Regions from separate parts of the Homo sapiens genome. Here region 2 is linked to region 1. The links are contacts of gene promoters, found by promoter capture Hi-C in human tissues and cell types (Jung and others, 2019). All regions are on one chromosome and are shown on one strand. Each heading gives the region's core, a stretch centred on a gene start or on the middle of the fragment in contact. The rest is flanking DNA. Distances are from core to core; before and after follow the strand shown. Region 1 holds the start of CKAP5 (cytoskeleton associated protein 5). Region 2 overlaps CSTPP1 (centriolar satellite-associated tubulin polyglutamylase complex regulator 1).

Region 1 (2,700 bases), core at 95-2,594:
CAGCCACCGCGCCCAGCCTAAAATCTTATTTAAAAATTTTTTTACATGAGTTTACCAACTAGATTTAACTTATGGTTGCAAAATAAATTGATTTCACCTTTATCTATATCATTAAATTTGGTAAAAGCATTACAGTTTGTCCAGTCACTTCAGAGAAGTCAAAGTCTTCTACAATTTCTTAAAGTTTCAAAAGATTCTTAGCTTAATTTATTGGCTCTTTAGGTCAAAAGAAGGACTTTTCAGGGTGATGAAAATGGAGGAAGGAGGAGCTCACCTTTCTAAAAATGAGTTTTCAATTACTATAATTATGCATAAGACAGGCAGCATTTCTGGGCCAAGATTTGATGCCTTGGTCCCATGAGAATTAAATTAGAGCCACGCATAAATTTGGGGCAAGTTCTGCAAAAACCACTTCAACCTCTATTGATGCTGAATAAAAAACTCATTGTTAAGATTCATCAACACGAATATATTTTCTAACACACACTAGCCACTCTGGCAACAACCCTTTCATCATTTTCTATCCAAGAAACACAACGGAATGCATTTCAATCCTGCTCAACAATTACCACGATTACAAGTAGAGGGGAGAGCTCAAAAGTAAGAATCTAGTTCACCGAGCCCGACCTTAAAGTAGCAAGGCCCAACCCACACTGCTGGCTATTGTATTGGTTCCCCAACACCTCCAGGGCTGGAAGGACACCAGAACGCTCCCGACACGTTGAGAGAGAGAAAGCCAGTCGTTAAGGGCGGGGTGGTGGATGATCGGAATCGTTCACATCGCAGCAAGCCAGCAGGGACACAGGTGTGCGGCCAGGCCCCGGTGCCGCTGTCCTTGCTCCAGGGCGACAAGGCCCTTCGCAACCACCACAGCCCTCGTAGGCGCTTACTTATTCATTCACTTGACAATTACGCGAGAGGCACTCTAGCAGGGCCGGCTCTCGGGGCCCCCGCCCTAGTCTTGGTAAATCGCTGCCGCCAGGCGCGGCCCTGCACCGCCCGCGCCCCGCGGACGCTGCCACCCGCGCCACGCTGCGGCGCGCTCTGGCCACCTGGAGCCCAACCCCGGCCTCCGCCGCACACGAGCGCCCACGCCCCCGGCCCTGCCCGCCGCAGGTCCCCCGGCCTCCGGCTCGCTTCGCCGCCTCAGACCTGCCGGGTTCGTGGGGCAAGTGGGGCGCGCGTCTGGAGACCTCCAGCCGCCCAGGATTCAGGGGCTCCTCTGCGCGCGCGATGCCTGCACTCGAGGGCCTCGCGGGTGGGGCAGGCCCACCGACCACTCACCTCAGCTGGGTCAGAACCAAGCGGCCTGCTCTAAGCCGTTTGAAACCGCTTGGGCCGCCGCACACCCCGCAGTGTCCTCGTTCTTTATTGGTCCTCGACGGACCGCCCATCGGACTTTTATTGGTCCATTTGAAAGGCCTGTGGGCACGCGCCGCCCGCAGCCTTAAAGGGGCCGCGCGCAGCCGTGTTTCCCTCTGGACCAGACGCCGCCTGCACGGGTGGGGACGCTGGTCGCTGCCGGGGGCAAGTCTGCCGACTCCAGAAAGAAAGGCGAAAGAATGTGTGTAGACCCGGGCATCCTTGGTCGTCAGCATGTTTGCTTTATTTAATTACAGATGTTCAGGCTGCTGTCAACACCCGACAATTTTTTTTGGTCATTTCATTCCCTAGAGATTGTGAAGCTAAGTGCTGTGAGGGAAACCAGAGGCAGCTGAGATGTCGTGGAAGTAACAGCGAATGAAGCCAGGATGCTGGATTCTGACCTTGGAACTGTTCTGAGTAAATCACTTTTCTCAGTAAATCTTCTGGAGTTGTTTCCTTATCTGTAAAATGGGATAACGATGTTTCCCTTACAATTTAATGGAGGAGTTAATATAACTAATAGAATGTCTGAGAAAAGCCTTTGTGAACTGTAACGCATCCTGCAAATGCTTAATATTCCCTTATAAAAACGAGAGGCTTGGTTAACATGATCTCCAGAATTTTAGCTTAGCTCTACATTCAGTGTTTCTGTGAATGAGTTCAGGTCCTTACTTCCAAGGAATTTGTAATCTACAGTGGTTGGAGGAATATAACATACAGACTAGTCACTAAAATTCAAAGCAGTGTAATAACTGTATAAATGAAAAGCTATAAATGCTTAGAGACAGGAGAAATTTGATGGGGGAGGATCTGTGAGGAAGATGAATTTTTAACCTAGGATTTAAAGAATGTGTAGATTCCCAACAGGCTAAAAGATGGAGAGAGGATGGATAAAAGTAAATGAAACAATTACATGTTTTTTCATTGTCAAGTTGGCAGAGATGAAAAAGTTCAACAGCCTTTGGTTGGTCAAGATTTGGAAAAACAGGCTGGGTGCAATGGCTTATGCCTGTAATCCTAGCGCTTTGGGAGGCCGAGGCAGGAGGATTGCTTGAGGCCAGGAGTTCAAGACCAACCTGGGTCTTGCTATCAAGACCCCATCTCTGTTTTTAAAAATATAAAGAGATTTGGAAAAATGGACACTCAAAGTCAATATTGGTAAGAGTATAATTGGTACAAACCTTTAGGAGGACAATTTGACAGTTACTAAAATGTACATAATCTAGTTCTGGCCCAGTAATCCACTATGAGGAATTTATCGTACAGATCTGTGCAAGTATGCAAAGAAAAATGTACAAGGATGTTTACTGCAATACTGCTTTTTTTTTTTTTTTT
Region 2 (2,700 bases), core at 20-2,519, 290 kb after region 1:
CTCTCTTGTTTGCTCTCTTCACCCGACCAATTTTCATACCAGTGAAGCTCCTTTGGTCAAAATGGTGTAACTGGATGCCTCCCACCCTGGAAAAGCTTTGTAGAAATACTGATCTTAAAATCTCACACCTGGAGGTTAGAGACTAGCATACCCTTCACACTGACTTGCTTTTAAAAGAACAGCTCTACCAAGACCAGGTCTGAAACTCATGAAATGAACAAAAAGAGGGCAGTGACTTGAAATGCAGAGACCTAATGTGTTCCTCTCCATTTCCACTTCAGATTTGCTGACCATGAAAGAATATCACTGTTTGCTGCAATTACTGTGTCCTGATTTCCCGCTGGAGCTCACTCAGAAAGCAGCCAGGTACGTCTCCTGGACTCTTGAAACCAACTCAGCTCTCTGTGGGCCACTGCTTCCTAGAGAAACCTGGAGTGTATACAAATGAAAAAAAGGAGCATTTAGGGAAGAAACTGGCAGTGGGAGAGGGGTCTATTTGGGATGTGCCCCAAAACATAATACATTCTGCATTTCCAAAGGGAAGCGAAATGATCCTTTGTGGTTTCTGTGGGGAGCCTCAGGGTCTGAAGATAGAGTTGGAGGGTGGTGAGATGAAGAGGCAGAAAAAGCCCAGACCCCTCCAATACCCCCACACACACACACCCTAGAGGATATTCTGAGAAAAGAGGGGCTGCATTTGTGTGTTTTCACGCTACTGTAAAGATACTACCCAAGACTGGGTAATTTATGAAGAAAAGAGGATTAATTGACTCACAGTTCCGCGTGGCCTCAGGAAACTTACAATCGTGGTGGAAGGCAAAGGGGAAGCAAGGACCTTTTTCACATGGTGGTAGGAGAGAGAAGTACAGACAGGGGAAATGTCAGACGCTTATAAAACCATCAAATGTCTTCAGAACTCACTCACTATCACAAGAACAGCATGGGGGAAACTGCCCATGTGATCCAATCACCTTCCACCAGGTCTCCCTCTCAACACCTGGGGATTACAATTCGGGTTGAGATTTAGGTGGGAACACAAAGCCTAACCATATCAGGGGGCAAGGGTTGGCAGTGACTTGTGATGAAGAGAGTTGAGGTTGGGGACTGGAAGGGCATAAAGGTGATAAAGCCCCAGTTGAAGGAAAGGCACATTATATTATTTATGCCAGAAGAAGGTTTTCAAGATCAGTCCAGAACCAGGACTTGGCAGAAATAGTTAGAAGCCCCTAATTTCTGTGTTGGGTTTCACCATCATTCACAATTTTTAACCACATGAGGTAATTGGACTATGCCTCAGTTAACTTTTACTTACTTAACTCAAAACCTGAGCTAGGCCAGACACGGTGGCTCACGCCTGTAATCCCAGCAGTTTGGGAGGCCAAGGCAGGCAGATCCCCTGAAGCCAGGTATTCAAGACCAGCCTGGCCTACATGGCGAAACTCCATCTCTACTAAAAATACAAAAAATTAACCAGGCACGGTTGCGCTTGCCTGTAGTCCCAGCTATTCGGGAGGTGGAGGCAAGAGAATTCGCTTGAACCTGGGAGGCGGAGGTTGCAGTGAGCAGAGATCGTGCCATTGCACTCCAGCCTGGGCGACAGAGCAAGACTCCGTCTCAAAAAAAAAAAAAAAAAAAAAAAAAAAAAAAAACCTGAGCTAGGGTTGCAAATGGACGTACAGCAAAAATCATGTTTATCGAAGAATGCCTACCTTCCCTATATCATACTGAATGCATTTACCTTCATTGTTCTATTTAAATTTGTTTACCTTAACTATCTCACCTAATCCTTGTAAAAACTGTTACTTCCCTTTAAAATGATCCTTTGTGGTTTCTGTGGGGAGCCTCCGGCTCTGAAGACAGAGTTGGAGGGTGGTGAGAGTATTAGGCAAACAACAAAACACACACACAAATACATACCCACACTCCCACACACACCCCTAGAGGATATTCTGAGAAAAGAGGAGGCAAGGGTTGGCAGTGACTTGTGATGAAGAGGGTTGCGGTTGGAGACCAGAAGGGCCTGAAAGCAGCTGGGCGTGGTAGCTCATGCCTGTAATCCCAGCACTTTGGGAGGCCGAGGTGGATGGATCACCTGAGGTCAGGAGTTCGAGACCAACCTGACCAACATGGTGAAACCCTGTCTCTGCTAAAAATACAACAATTAGCCTGGCGTGGTGGCAGGCACCTGTAATCCCAGCTACTTGGGAGGCTGAGGCAGGAGAATCACTTGAACCTGGGAGGCAGAGGTTGCAGTGAGCCGATTGTGCCACTGCACTCCAGCATGGGGGACAGAGTGAGACTGAACGTCAAAAAAAAAAAAAAAGGGAGCATGAAAGTGATGAACCCCAGTTGAGGGAAGGGTACTGTTACTGCTCACTTCACTGAAGTGGGAACTGAGGCTCAGACGGGTGACAATGTTGTGCGAATATACTGATAGCTTGTAAGTAGCAGTGGCAGAACTGGAACCGCAGTCAGCCTGAATCCAGAGATGGGGGATCGGGAGCACAAGGAGTCTCTTCATGCTCCCACCTCCCTGTGTCATGGCATCATTTCTGCTTTGTGGTTTGACCCACTGAAAACAAAGCTGCATTGGCTGCACTGCACCAAGAATCACCTCGCTCCTTTTGAAATGTGCCAACCAGCTCCTCTATTGACTTGGAAGATGGGAACTCCATTGCTCCCAGTGACAGACACCAGCCT

What was found. The method cuts DNA at HindIII sites, captures the fragments that hold promoters and counts their contacts. A contact is called where the count stands out against the background at its distance.
Region 2: a fragment that was not itself captured here is called in contact with the fragment with the promoter of CKAP5 in region 1 in 2 of the 25 tissues and cell types used here (IMR-90 fibroblasts and dorsolateral prefrontal cortex).

What each region holds. Positions count from the first base shown.
Region 1 is chr11:46,844,936-46,847,635 of GRCh38, forward strand. It overlaps CKAP5 (cytoskeleton associated protein 5), which reads right to left and starts at 1,345. Exons shown (of 44, transcript NM_001008938.4): 1 at 1,285-1,345. LRP4-AS1 (LRP4 antisense RNA 1) reads left to right here and starts at 1,476. Exons shown (of 3, transcript NR_038909.1): 1 at 1,476-1,564; 2 at 1,675-1,782. RefSeq lists enhancers at 588-1,165, 1,620-1,739 and silencers at 1,000-1,149, 1,330-1,409. The HindIII fragment of the contact is 16,643 bases long and covers 1-2,700 here.
Region 2 is chr11:47,137,364-47,140,063 of GRCh38, forward strand. CSTPP1 (centriolar satellite-associated tubulin polyglutamylase complex regulator 1) reads left to right here. Exons shown (of 9, transcript NM_024113.5): 4 at 282-366. Among named protein-coding and RNA genes, the nearest start is that of ARFGAP2, 38 kb to the right of the region's middle. The HindIII fragment of the contact is 3,299 bases long and covers 1-2,700 here.